5 separate regions of the Homo sapiens genome follow, and regions 1, 2, 4 and 5 are each linked to region 3. The links are contacts of gene promoters, found by promoter capture Hi-C in human tissues and cell types (Jung and others, 2019). All regions are on one chromosome and are shown on one strand. Each heading gives the region's core, a stretch centred on a gene start or on the middle of the fragment in contact. The rest is flanking DNA. Distances are from core to core; before and after follow the strand shown. Region 1 has its middle 6.5 kb from the start of LINC01973. Region 2 has its middle 11 kb from the start of LINC01993. Region 3 holds the start of TMC6 (transmembrane channel like 6). Region 4 overlaps LINC01993 (long intergenic non-protein coding RNA 1993). Region 5 overlaps TNRC6C (trinucleotide repeat containing adaptor 6C).

The links. The method cuts DNA at HindIII sites, captures the fragments that hold promoters and counts their contacts. A contact is called where the count stands out against the background at its distance.
Region 1: a fragment that was not itself captured here is called in contact with the fragment with the promoter of TMC6 in region 3 in 1 of the 25 tissues and cell types used here (liver).
Region 2: a fragment that was not itself captured here is called in contact with the fragment with the promoter of TMC6 in region 3 in 1 of the 25 tissues and cell types used here (lymphoblastoid cells).
Region 4: a fragment that was not itself captured here is called in contact with the fragment with the promoter of TMC6 in region 3 in 2 of the 25 tissues and cell types used here (dorsolateral prefrontal cortex and lymphoblastoid cells).
Region 5: a fragment that was not itself captured here is called in contact with the fragment with the promoter of TMC6 in region 3 in 2 of the 25 tissues and cell types used here (aorta and hippocampus).

What each region holds. Positions count from the first base shown.
Region 1 is chr17:77,876,206-77,878,957 of GRCh38, reverse strand. No RefSeq gene overlaps it. Among named protein-coding and RNA genes, the nearest start is that of LINC01973, 6.5 kb to the left of the region's middle. RefSeq lists a silencer at 2,689-2,752. The HindIII fragment of the contact is 3,702 bases long and covers 1-2,752 here.
Region 2 is chr17:78,287,769-78,290,669 of GRCh38, reverse strand. No RefSeq gene overlaps it. Among named protein-coding and RNA genes, the nearest start is that of LINC01993, 11 kb to the right of the region's middle. RefSeq lists an enhancer at 2,511-2,901. The HindIII fragment of the contact is 5,194 bases long and covers 1-2,901 here.
Region 3 is chr17:78,127,400-78,130,099 of GRCh38, reverse strand. It overlaps TMC6 (transmembrane channel like 6), which reads left to right and starts at 1,345. Exons shown (of 20, transcript NM_001127198.5): 1 at 1,345-1,488. RefSeq lists a silencer at 1,252-1,781 and an enhancer at 2,462-2,700. The HindIII fragment of the contact is 22,186 bases long and covers 1-2,700 here.
Region 4 is chr17:78,271,721-78,274,446 of GRCh38, reverse strand. LINC01993 (long intergenic non-protein coding RNA 1993) reads left to right here. Exons shown (of 7, transcript NR_073178.1): 2 at 2,480-2,726. Among named protein-coding and RNA genes, the nearest start is that of LINC01993, 5.4 kb to the left of the region's middle. RefSeq lists an enhancer at 1,526-2,215. The HindIII fragment of the contact is 5,166 bases long and covers 1-2,726 here.
Region 5 is chr17:77,962,454-77,965,153 of GRCh38, reverse strand. All of the region lies in intron 1 of TNRC6C (trinucleotide repeat containing adaptor 6C), which reads right to left. Among named protein-coding and RNA genes, the nearest start is that of TNRC6C, 5.1 kb to the right of the region's middle. The HindIII fragment of the contact is 3,556 bases long and covers 1-2,700 here.

The DNA.
Region 1 (2,752 bases), core at 132-2,631, 250 kb after region 3:
GGGCATGGTGGTGCACACCTGCAGTCCCAGCTACTCGGGAGGCTGATGCAACAGGATTGCTTGAGTCTAGGAGGCCGAGGCTGCAGTGAGCTATGATCAGGCCACTACACTCCAGTCTGGGCAACAGAGCAAGACCCAGTCTCATACACATACACACACACACACGCAAGAAAGTTTCTGTTTAATCCAAAGGATGGAATGCTATCCAGCAGGGAAAAGGAAGGAGCTACTGGTACATGCAGCAATGTGGGTGAGCCTTGAAAGCATTGTGCGAAGTGAAGGAAGCCAGACACAGAGGCCTCTGTATATATGACATTCTGGAAAAGGCAGAGCTTTAGGGACAGAAAATCCATCAGTGGTTGCTTGGGGCCAAGATGGGGGGAGAAGATTGACTGCAGAGGGCCAGGAGGGACTTTTCTGCATCATAGAGACATTCTCTATCTCGATTGGGTGGTGGCTCCATGACTACATATACATGTTGAAATCCATCAAATGGTATACTTAAAATTAGTGAGTTTTATTGCATGTGAATTGTACTTCAACGAAATGGGTATATTAAAAATCTGCAGCTGTCTGCAATCCTTCTATGTCCTAGGCATGAGCTGGGAACATCTAAATATAGGATTTTCAATATTCAGGACAACCCAGTATTTTTTCAGAGAGATGAGCACAGGCTTTGCGAGGTCACACGGTGAATGCAGGCCACACAGCTTATATGCCAGCGTGGAGATAAAGGCTGAACTTTCTGCCAGGGGCCTGGAGGGGAGTGAGCACAATAAGACCTGACCGTGGTGGCCATGGAGCCTGGTGCCCCAGGGTTCTGTGTTCCCAGGGACCTGCTGTGTAAGGCCCGACCATCTGCCCACAGGAGCTCAGATCACCTTTCTCTCCAAACTGTTTGGGTATTTGAGTCCCTGGATTTTTCTAAATCAGAGTTTGGTTAGGCCTGGTCCCCCAGAAATGCCCTCAGAGCCCCAGGCAGGGACCCCAGCCACTTGCCCTGGAGGAAGCCCCTGGGCTTGCCTCCCTCCTTCCCCCACCTTCTCTTTCTCTCTGGATATCAGCATATTTGTCACACTTACTTCATTTCTCCTCCAGCTTGGTGACGCAAGGTGAGCTGAAGGAGAGCCGCTTGGGTGAGGATTATGAAGGCACGGGTGCCATGGAAACCACTCTGAAGGCCCCCTAAAGCTGCAGCTGTCAGGAGGGGCTGTCTGCTGCCATTGGTCGGCCACGTGGACCCTCTCCCTAACACGATGCGTGACTTTTATTTATTTTACTCTGTTTTGCATCTTATGCCTGCTCTCGGCTTCTCTTGGCTTCCTCACAGTCCTGGTGCAGGATGCTGCCTGCAGGTCAGTAGGATAAAGGTGCTAATGTTTTCTGTTTCTCTTTTTTGAACTTCTGACTTTTTAGGCTCATTTTCTGGTGCTCTCTCCTCCATGCCATAAGGCAGCACAGATTTCAAGCCATAGATGTTGGAGGCAGAAAATGGGATTATGTTAGACAGAGAGGGAAGCCAGCTCTTCTAGCAGGTGCTGTAGAAATGGCTTCTGATTTTGGTCACAGAAGCAGTCCCTAACTTTCCCTGCAAATCCAAGAAGCCCTCAAAGGGGCCAAAGGCAGGCTCTTTAGCACAATGTCAATCTGAGCAGAATGGAAGGGTTGCCAGAGGTTGCTAGTGAGATTCAAAGCCCTGTGGGTGCCTTGATCTTCCTAAGCTTGCTTTTAGAGAAGTGTGCTGTCGAAACTTCAGGAGGCCGCCAGCTTCTGGTTGGACCTCAACCTCCTCCTCCCTCAACCTCCTCCTCCCTTTGAGTAGGAATCAGAAGAATCTTTTACATTAGCCTTTGCCTTGATAGTTTTTATATCCTTCATTTTATTTCTTTCCAGCAATGGCCCTGAGAAATTGGCAGGCGAAGTGCCATTAACCCTGCATTGGAGAGGAGGAAATTGAGACCCAATTTTTTTTTTTTTTTTTTGAGACAGAGTCTCGCTTTGTCACCCAGGCTGGAGTGCAGTGGTGCGATCTCAGCTCGCTGAAATCTCCACCTTTCTGGTTCAAGTGATTCTCATGCCTCAACCTTCCGAGTAGCTGGGATTACAGGCGTGTGCCACCATGCCTGGCTAATTTTTGTATTTTTAGTAGAGACAGGGTTTCACCATGTTGACCAGGCTGGACTTGAACTCCTGACCTCAAGCGATCCACCTGCCTTAGCCTCCCAAAGTGCTGGGATTATAGTCGTGAGCCACTGTTTCCAACTGAGACCCAATAATTTAAGTAGAAGGGCTGGGACTGGGGCCTGAGGCTGCTGCTCCCTGCCTAAGGCTCTGAGACTGCTTGATCACAGGGTCAAGATCTTTGATGAAGCCGCTTTCTCAAGCTGTGGGTGGGCTTTTCCTGGTAGGAAATTTGCCTGAGACCTGGCAAAGATGGGACCTTTTAAATAGTGAAGGGAAATGAGCAATCCTTCCAAAGTCAAGTTCCTCAACGAAGCCCTTCTAAACACTGTCTCTCCTCCCTGCACACATGCCTATGTGCACACAATACACATGCTTGTTCATGCTTTATCCCTCTTGGTTAGGGGTCTATCCCCATCAAGCCATTAAAGTTGTTCTGGTGGAATCTCTGATGACACATTTTTTTTTTGGCTTGTGAAAACCAACCATTTTGTTATTTCATGAGTTTATGAGTTGACTGGGCTCAGCTGGGAGGTTCTTCTGGATGGGGCTTCAGTCATAAACAAACATG
Region 2 (2,901 bases), core at 239-2,738, 160 kb before region 3:
AGGCTGGCTTGGGCACACTGGCCATACCACAAGGCAGCTCCTTGTCCCAGCAGGCAGGGCTCCTTTGTGCTGTGGAGCCCAGGCCCCAGCCCCCACTCCCTGGGTTCAAATCTCAGCTCTGGAAGTGACTCAGCCTCTCTGAGCCTCAGTTTCTTCCTCTGTAAAGTGGATATTGTATTCATAGGTCCTCCTTTGATAGGATTGCTTCTCGTGATACACGCAGGATGCGAAGAACAGTAGCAGGCACGGAAAAGGCCCCAAATAACATCTTCCATGGATGCCACTGTGGCCTCGCTCGCTGTTCTTCCTGCCGCTGCCGCCCAGCCTGCAGGTCTCTCCCACTTTGGGTAAATAACCCTTCCCCACCTTTGGCAAGCCGGGCCACCTGGCAGTACGTGCAGGGCTCAGGTCACTGCCCACACCCACCCGTGCATGCCCAGGTAGGACACACACACTCTCTCTCACACACACTTACACTCGCACTTACACACACAACACACACACTCATTCACACTTACACTCAACACACAAACACACTCGCACTCACACACAAAACACACACACACTCATTCACACACTCACACTCAACACACACACGCCACTCACACACACACAAAACACATACTCACACACACACATACACTCACACACACTGACACCCCTTAGCCTGGTGTCTTGAGCCAAGTACGAGGCTGCGAAGGTCTCCCTCTAGCGGCCCAGAAAGAGTAGATGCTCACTCAGGCCTGACTTAACTCACTGGAGGAAGCCGCGGGAACTCCTCTGCCCTGGGCTGCAGCCGGATCCTAAGAAGTTCCCGTCCTGGCTGGGGGGTTGGGCATGGTGGCTCACACCTGTAATCCCAGCACTTTGGGAGGCCGAGGCAGGCGGATCATCTGAGGTCGGGAGTTTGAGACCAGCCTGACCAACGTGGAGAAACCCCGTCTCTACTAAAAATACAAAATTAGCTGGGCTTGGTGGTGCACGCCTGTAATCCCAACTACTAGGGAGACTGAGGCAGAAGAATCGCTTGAACCCTGGAAGCAGAGGTTGCAGTAAGCCAAGATCGCACCACTGCACTCCAGCCTGGGCGACAAAAGCGAAACTCCATCTCAAAAAAAAAAAAAAAAAATAGAATCCCAGGTCCCGGCCATGCCTAGACACCCGCCTTCTGTCCCTTCATTCATCTGAGCAGCAGGAGCTGAACACTTGTCAGCAGCAGCCCAGCCCAGAGGCTAGAATCAGAGCCAGTCCCACGTCCAGGACCCGAGGAGGTCCCAAGGCTTTTGGGGGGCCAAACAGAGCTGGCTGAGGGGTGACGAGTAGGAGGTCTCACAGCCCTCAATGTCAGGCACAAGGGGAGAGGCAGGGTAGCCCAGGAAGAAGGACGTGCACAGGCAGGGGCTCCATGCCTTCATGCCTGGGGCTGGGGCAGGATCCGGCTGCAGAGGTGAGGCACACACAGTAGGACTGCAATAATGAATACACAGAGTAGGACTGCAGTAATGAGTGAAGGAATGAGCGCATGAACCGACAGCCTTGCAGGTTTGTTTTTGTTTTTGTTTTGTTTTGTTTTGAGACAGAGTCTTGTTCTGTTGCCCAGGCTGGAGTGCAGCAGCATGATCTCAGCTCACTGCAACCTCCGCCTCCCAGGTTCAAGTGATTCTCCTGTCCCAGCCTCCCGAGTAGCTGGGACTACAGGCACGCACCACCATGCCAGGCTAATTTTTGTATTTTTAGCAGAGACAGGGTTTCACCATGTTGGCCAGACTGGCCTTGAACTTCTGACCTCAAGTGATCGGCCCACCTCAACCTCCCAAAGTGCTAGGATTACAGGCATGAGCCACTGTGCCTGTCCAGCTTTGCCACTTTTGTATCACAAGCCCCTTGTACCTCTTAACAATAGATTCAGAGGTGGTTTGGTCTCAGCTGGAGAGAAGCCAGAGAACCTATACTTCTAAAAGTAGCTCAGATGGGCCGGGCGCAGTGGCTCACACCTGTAATCCCAGCTCTTTGGGAGGCCAAGTTGGGAGGATCGCTTGAGCCCAGAAGTTCAAGACCAGCCTGGGCAACATGGCAAGATCTGTCTCAGCAAAATATTTAAAAACTTAGCTGGGGCATGGTGGTACACGCCTGTGGTCCTAGCTACTTGGGAGGCTGAGGTGAAAGAATCACTTGAACCCTGGAGGTTGAGACTGCAGTGAGCCAAAATCCCACCACTGCACTCCAGCCTGGGCAACAGAGCGAGACCCTGTCTTAAAAAAAAAAAAATAAAAAAAGGAGCTTAGATAATTCTGAGACCAGGCAAGTCTGGAAACTTCCTGACTTCTTGTGGCATCCCTGGTTGCCTGGACACTGATTAACTCACAGCCCCAGGCCCCAGGACTCTGAGCTGGGAGGTCTGGGGTGGCCCTGGAAGCTGCCTATGCAACCAGTGTCCCAGGCATGGGGGTCCCAGTCACCCTCTGGGGTGCAGCAAACTAAGAAGCAGGAGCAGGGGACTCAAGGGGATCCCCAGGACGATGGCATTAGCGGGAACTGCCCCAGGCACTGGCAACCGCAGCCAATCCCGTGCTCTCTGGGCCTCTGGTCGCACTCAGAAGACATACCTTGTCCAGGGCCAACAGCGGTGTGAGGACCAGGACGGGGACCCTGTAGTTCCCACCAGTCATGTGTCCTGGACAGCCCACGTCACCTCTGACACTTGGTCACACAACGATGTGAAGATACTTACTGCCACTGAATTGAAACACTTAAAAATGGCTAAAGTTGGCTGGGCGCGGTGGCTTACGCCTGTAATCCCAGCACTTTGGGAGGCCGAGGCAGGTGGATCATGAGGTCAGGAGATTGAGACCATCCTGGCTGACATGGTGAAACCCCATCTCTACTAAAAATACAAAAAAT
Region 3 (2,700 bases), core at 96-2,595:
TGGGCCCCTGGGAAGCCCGCAGCCCTTCCTCTCTGCTCCCTCTCTACCTGCTATAGGGCCCAGTCATCTCAGGTCTGAATGTTCATAGCTTTTCTGCCTCTCTGCCCACCTCCTTCCTGGTTTCCAGAGTCCTTTCTGTGTGTCAGGCGCAAGCTATGTGCTGGTGCTGGGCACACAGTGGGCTGGGGTAGGAGGGGGCACAGAACCACAGATGTACATGTCAATAGGAAGTGGTAGGTGCTCCACCAGGGTTCAATCTGGGGAGGCTCCCCAGAGGAGGTGGCATTCATGCAAATTCAGTGTGGGTATGCAGGGAGGGGGAAGCAGTGGGAGGAGAGGCAGGGGCTGGGTCTCCATGCCAGGGTGCCACTTGCCAAGAACCAGCTTGGGGTAGCCATCTGAGGACCACACTGGCAGCTCCAAAAGGCCCCAGCCTTGACCCCTGCCTGGTCCTCGCTTTTGCTTGCCTGCTCTCCCCTGCAGCAGTGCCCTCTCCTGCCCTCCTGGGCCCCAGCTCACATTCACCCTGCCTGCTTCATGGCTTCTCCCCGCCAGGAATGACCCTCCCTTCCAAATGGGCTTGGGGTGGGGGGTACAATCTCAAAGGCAGTTTCCTCCATAGAGTTCCCAGGTGGACCACTAAGTCTCCTGCTTTGGCTGGGGGCACCCTAAAGGGTGATTAACTTCTCTCAGCCTCAGTTTCCTCATCTGTGAAATGGGAATATCAGTGCATACCTTCCTGGCTCATGGGGAATAACAGAAAACAGGGCAACGGGTACAGCACCTGGGGACAGTCACCTAAGTGTCAGCGTGTCCTCCTTTTCATCCCCTCCTCTCCACACAGCACACAGGAAGTGAGCCAGAACTCTTGCTAGATAAACAATGAACCCCGCCCAGGTGTCAGGAGTGGGAGATAACCAGGCTCCCCCCGCCGGGGTCGGGGAGAGTCAGCAGGAGGCTTGCGGGGGCGGCGGGGGGGGGGGCGCTGCCCAATCTGGAGTGAGATACTCTGTGTCCCTGGGGCTTTCGGCGGCATCTTACTTGGACGATCCCTAACCATGGGAAGCAGATGAGTCTGGAAATATTGCCCCTTTTTGGAACTTGGGGAAACTGAGCGTCAGAAAAATTGGGGACTTCAACCAGGGGCTGGAATGAATCCAGCCCAGCTCAGACCTCAGGAGGAGGGGTCGGAAGTTGGCAGGGGAGGAAGGCATAGTCGCCGCGGGGCGCCCGGAGGAGGGCGGGGGCGCCGCGGGCCGGGCCGGGTCACGTGATAGCCGAGGCCCGCCCCCCCCCCCCCCGCCCACGTGGGCCGGGAGGTGCGGCTACTCCCCCGGCCCCGGCAGACCTGCGACTGGCCCAGTCGCCCCTGGGGCCCTTTGCCACTCCCTTGGCAAGGAGAGCCGAGACCTCAGTTCCCGGCGGCTCTTGCGGGGCACAGGTGAGCCCTGGCTGCGCGCGCGGCCCCTCCTCCCCGGCGCCTCCCAGGTGAGCGGCCGCGATCCCGGTCCCGGGTCCCGCCAGCCCCAGCTGCTTCTCCTATGCGGGGACAGCGGCAATCCCCCCTGAATTCCTTTCGGCCTCTGGGGCCATTTGGCAGCCGAGTTCCCTCCCCGGGTGCTCCTGGAGCTCCCAGGGCTTGACCCTCCGGCTCGGACAGAGCTGGGAGCGGCAGGGGCGGGGAGGACAGTGCGGGGAGCAAAATCCGCAGCCCCCACCCAGGTCCCCCAGCCGAGCGCCAGGGCACGGGGAGGGGAGGGGAGGGGGTGTGGCCGGGATGGGAAGGGGCGGGGGACAGGGAGGCCGGCTGGACGGGTTCGGTGGCCCCAGAGTTGCAGCCGCTCTGGGCTCTGGGGCCAGGTTGCGGTTCTCCCTGGGTAGCGGCTGCTCCCGGGAAGCTCGCTGCCGGCTGGGGTGGGGGTTCCTGGAAACGGGCGCCACCCAGCCTCTCCCCACCTAGCTCAGGAATGGTGCGCCTGGAAACTCCGCTGGACTTGCCTGGGCCTCGGGGCGGAGTGCTGGGGCGCTGGGTGCCCGAGTCCCCGGGTTCCCTGAGCTTAGAAGGGCCTGTCTGGAGGAAGGGATTCCAGCTCTAGGGACTGGGTGGGGCGTCCTCAGCCCCTCTTTCGGCAGCTGTCCCGTGTTAGGCTGGGTGGGGCCGCCTCGGACCCAGCTCTGGGCTGGTTTTCCCACGTCTTTGCTCCTGCTGGAGGGAGGGGGTGGTGTGGGGCCTGGGCCCGAAGATGGCACCCAGGACACTGAGGGAGGGCGCCGTCCGGTCCTGTGACTGGCACCCCTGCAAGGAGCTGCTCTGTCGGGGCGCCCCCGGGCTTTGCCTGTCCGAGGAAAGCGCCCTTCAACCCGGCCGACTTTGAGCCCTGAGTTCCTGAGGGTGAGCGCAGGAGGAGTCCAGGGCAGAGGCCGGCAGGACTCGCTGGTGGCTGGGAGCTGAGTCCTGGCTCCACTCTCACAGATGAACGGGCCCCGAGCCCAGGGCCCCAGACAAGGCTGCTCTGGTTCCAGTTGTGCCGGGTGACGGCAGAGCCAGGACAAAGGAGGCCTGTTGAGGTCCTGGCCACCCCCAGCCGGCCGCCCTGGGATGATGGAATGCAGGGCAGTGGGTCTTCTGAGAACATGAGGACCTTGGCGCCCTGACGGCGGTGGCATGGAGTGACCTCTGTGTGTGGGGGAGGAGCCCCC
Region 4 (2,726 bases), core at 163-2,662, 140 kb before region 3:
CAGCCAGCCTGGGCGACAGAACAAGACTCGGTCTCAAAAAAAAATTTTTTTTTTCATAATAAAAACTAAAAACAAATAAGGGGAGGATGGAATGATCAGTCCTGCTTCTTCACTCCCTTGTAGTAGAATTATGCATTCACATCCTTGACTTGGGGCATAGCTATGGGACTTGCTTTGATCAGTGGGATGTCAGGGGATATGGAGTGAGTAGACTTGAACTGTGCTTGCACAATGAACTTGCTCTCTTTCACTGCTGAAGTCACCCTGGAAGGAACACGCCTCAGGTAGCTTGCTGGGCCGAGGTTGATAAGAAACATGTGAAGCAAACCTGGACCCAACTCACAGCCCAGACGCCAGCCAGCTAATCCAAGCCTGGATCTGGTGAACCCCCACAGACCCACAGAGATGTGAGCAAAACAAATGCTTATTGTAGAATGCCACCAGGATTGCGGGGCTGCTTGTTACACAGCCTGATTATGGCACTCACTAACTGATATAGGGAGTTTCTCAGGAAACCCAAGAGAAGCCACTAGTCAGTATTGTGACTGACAGTGGCACTCTGGTTAACCTATGCAGAAAAGGAATTCAGTGGGGGTAACCGTTAGCATAGAATGGGCTGCATAGGGTATCGAGGCTGGATACTCACTGCATGCTGTGACACAGTGCTGTCTGGCTCTACCACAACCCTTGGGAACAATCCTAAATTACTCTTTTTTTATTTTTTATTTTTTTTTGAGACAGAGTCTTGCTGTGTCGCCCAGGCTGGAGTGCAGTGACCTGATCTTGGCTCACTGCAACCTCCACCTCCCAGGTTCAAGCGATTCTCCTGTCTCAGCCTCCCGAGTAGCTGGGATTATAGGTGTGCACCACCACACCTGACTAATTTTTGCATTTTTAGTAGACACAGGGTTTCACCATATTGGCCAGGCTTGTCTCAAACTCCTGGTCTCCAGTGATCCACCTGCCTCGGCCTCCCAAAATGCTGGGGTTACAGGCGCAAGCCACCACACCTGGCCCCTAAATTACTCTTGAACTTGGCATCTCATCTTCACGATTAAACATTCAGGTGGAAGCATTTAATGTAATCATTTTGGTCACATTCCCAGGAGTCAGTTTTCAGAGCCTGGGAAAGGGAGCAGGGACCCCCAGGACCCTACCTCCAACGTAGAAAGGGTATTTGGACACCAGGCAACCAAAAGGGCAAATGGCTACCACTGGCAGGAATGCAGGAGGGGCTGAAGACAGGTGTGAGCTCTCGGCAGGAGTTGGGGGGCCTGATCCTACCTCCTGCTGTTCCCCCATGTCCCCTCTGTTTTGAACTCAGAGCTTCGGACAAGAGCCCCCTCCTGCTGTCTGAAGGGCACCAGTGTGGCTGCCCGCTGCTCCCAGGTTCCACGTGCCTAGCTTCAGCCACCTGGAGGGAGACTGATTCCTCTTCCTCATTCCAGTTCTCATTTCTGGAGCCAAGTGAACGCCATTCGGAGAAATGTCCCTCGGCTTCCACTGTCTCCAGGCAAAGGGTAGGAAGGAGTGGTTCCCAGAGGCCGAGATGAGGACTCAGATGAAGCCACAGGTGTCTGCAGCTGTGTGGAGCTCTGGCAGATGCAGGCGGAGACTTGCCTCTGACATAGGGAGTTGTTGACGTCCCAGCTAAGTCAGCTGAGAACAGAAAGCCAGTGACGCAAACAACTCCAACCCACGGGACGGCTCGGGGGCTGGGGTGAGGCATGCAGAGTACACCTGACTGATCCCAGTGCAACTCACAGGGCGGCTGGAGGGTTATCCCAGCCCAACTCTAGGACAGCTGGAGGGCTGGGGAAAGGCATGCAGAGTATGCCAACCAATCCCAGCCCTGGACAGAGAGGCATGGAGAGGGCTATTGTGATACCCAACCTTGTTTTAACCTGAATTGACTCTCCCTTAGCTGAGAGAGCCAGACAGACTCCATCTTGGCTCCTTCACTTACAGCCCCTTACCCACCCCCTTCCTCAAGGACTTAACTTGTGCAAGCAGACTGCCAGCACATCCAAGGATGCAATTAACTGATAAGATACTGTGGCAAGTTATATCCGCAGTTCCTAGGAATTCGCCCGGTTGATAGCACCCAGAGTCCCCGCGTTTGTATCCGGTTGATAACACTCAAAGCCCCGCGTCTATCACCTTGTAATACATTTAAAGCCCCTGCACCTGGAACTGTTTGCTTTCCCGTAACCATTTATCCTTTTAACTTTTTTGTCTGCTTTGCTTCTGTAAGATTGTTTTAACTAGACTCCCCCCACCGCCCCTTTCTAAAACAAAGTATAAAAGAAAATCTAGCCCCTTCTTTGGGGTGGAGAGAATTTTGAGCACTAGCCTGAATTCGTCTCAGAGAGTGGCGTTTCTCTACAACTCGCTTGATCACAACTCTGTGAGGGAGGCAGATAGAGGAAGGAACACCCACGCCCCCAACTGCACTGTCCCCCACCCCCATGTTCTGCAGGTGCCTCCCACTGTGGGCTCCACAGAGGCAGAGGATGAGGGAGCCACTGATACCTCCCTGTAAGGCAGCCTCCCTGAGCGAGCAGGAGCAGGTCAGGGGTGAGTGTGGAATGATGACAGCCCAGGGCATCCTAGGCCCCCGGGGCAAGAGCAAGCTCCCTGTGCTTCCTGACCCCCGCCTCATTTGCAGATACATGTGCTCATGTCGGGAGATACCTGGAGTCATCTCAACTCCTGTCCCCCATTCC
Region 5 (2,700 bases), core at 29-2,528, 160 kb after region 3:
CATCTGTAAAATGGGAATGTTAAAAGCAACCACTTCACAGGAGTGTTGTGAGGATTAAATAAGATAAACTCATGTCCTTGGCACATAATCACATTGTAAATGCTCAGATTAGTTTTAAATGGAGATCTGGTTACCTAAGGATGCTTTCTAACCTCGTCCACTCCCACTTCACAATTCCCAATTGTCCTCAGTGACTCAAATGTACTTGTTCCCACAAATCCATCACCTTCTTCCCTTACTGTGCCTCCCTACCAAAAAAGACCTTGTTTAAGACATCAGCCATAGCCCCCTGAAGAACAAAGCCTATTAAATTCCCTCCCTACACTCTGGGCCCCTCACTCTGCACTTCATATTTCATATGGAGTATGAGAAAAAATACTTGTGCATCTCCCTCCTCCCCACTGTAATTTCTGAATAACCGTTGTCCACATCATCTCAACAACAGTTGGAAAGGTGACACCTGTGCCCGCGTTGCCATTTCCCAGTTTCAGATCTTAGTTTAATTCCCAGTTGCTATTTTCACTGAGATTTTCCCTGCTTCCTAAAAGAGTAATTAAAAAGAAATGATCTTTGGGAATAAAAAAGTAAACAATATCTTTGCCAGGCTCAAACCAAGCACTTGATTTTAGCTGTGAGAGATCTTATTCTTAATAAGCTAGAAGGCACACATAAAATGAATCAAACAAAGCACATATTCCCAATAACCACCTGGGCACCAACTTGCATCTGGTATTAGCCACGTCAAAAGACAGTCTGCACATTAGTAAAGGACTCAACCACAGACAAGAGTTATCCAACTGCTGAGAATAATTCAACTTGACACTGTGATACTATAGGTTTGTAGTTCAATCCTTCAGAGAAGGAAGTTATAAAGATACAATAGAGTATTAATTTCTAAAATGGTCTGAAGAAGAAAAACAGAGAGGGTCTTCAGAGTAAACCATTTGGATTTATACAAATAGATGCCAGTCACACTCTTCTTCATTTTTGTGCAAAAAAATTAAAAATTTGTTATGCCAAAAAGGTTCATGAGAAAGTGGAAACTGGGCCAAATTAGACCAATCCATCCCACAAAATATCTGGAAGATTCCAGATGACTCTTTGGGCCATGTGCACTGTGTGTGGCCCAGTGATCATATGGGTCTTAGGGCAGTGGTTCTCCAACAGAAAAGAAGTATTGCAACAAAGAGGCAAATAAAGAGGAAGATGGTGGGACAGACAACTCTTATTTCCTAGACACCCCTTATTTCCTAGAGCAAACATTTAAATCCACTGGCTTACAAGAGGAATATACTTAAGAAGCTATATTATTGCTCATCCTTAATCACTACTATATTTTAGAAAACCAAAGTTCCAATGCATAGCTGGAACTCAGAGAGACACAGAGAATATTAAGAGTTCAAAATAACATTGAGTGTTCCTTTCCCAAGACCATTACTTCTGTTGTGGTTTGCAGCCACAGAGGGCTCAGGAGAGTGCGAACAACTATCTGTGCTACAGCAGTGATGTTTTATGGCTGGATGCCCAGATTGTCTAGCTCTGCACACAGCTCTATAGTCTTTTGAAGGCTACAGAGGAGGAATGCATTCTTAACAAACAGCTCTCCATTCCTGCAATAGCTTCTTCATTCTCTGAAAACATCTAAAGCTAAGAAAAGAATTCATTTTTAGTAAAACTCCAAAAATGGAACAAACGATATGGATTTTCAGCATGTTTTAAACATGTAAAACCTTGTTATATATATCCCAGGTGGAGATTTTTTAAAATTACATAATTTACTTTTCATTAAATAAATTAACATTTCAAATGCACGATCTGTACAATAGGAAACTGTACCATTATTTTAATCGGGTTATTCAAACAAGTTCACTGGCTAAGATTATACATTTCTCAGTTTCAATTTCAGATATACACTTTCTGCACAAGGTTATATAGTTATTTCTGACAAGTAACCTTTACATTTTTAAGTAATTATATTCCTAAAAAGTTATGTATAAGCTGAAAATTTATAAATGGACTCCACTGCATTAAAGTCTATTTAAAGAAAGCTTATTGTATATCATTTTATAAAGAATGCTCTCCTCGTGACCACACAATTATTTAAAAACTCATTTGTATAAATTTGGATAGCCATAGACTGAGTAAAAGCAAGAAAACCTGTACAATCTACCCCCTACAAAATAGGAGCCACTTCTCACCTGATATTTTGCTGTCCCTACTCAAATCTATGACATCTTCAAACAAAATATTAAGATGTTAACTATCTAAAGTAACTAAAATCCAGTCACCTTCACTGGGACCAGTTGTCATGCAAGAGAGACCAAAGACTGTGTCACCAACACTTCAAAATATTTCCTTACTTCTCACCTAAAATATTTGAAGACCCTCTGAGATAGAGCTGGAGAAAAGGTAAAAACCCATGTCTTAAAATTATGAGAAAGAAGCCAAAACAAGTTCAACGGAAGATAACAAAAACAAAACAAACATAAAGTTACCTGGTTCTTCCCAGCTTATATAGACCCTTTCACGCTCAGTCTGTTCAGGACTCCGCCTCCTGCTCCCTCAACCTATCCTTCTGCCAGCTCCAAGGACGTCTATAAATCTGTTCCTGTCTCCTCCTCTCCATTTCTTGTGCCTTCTCCACCAGCTTCAGTTGCTCTTGGTAATCTTTGCTTGCTCTATCCCCAAATCTTAATTGTC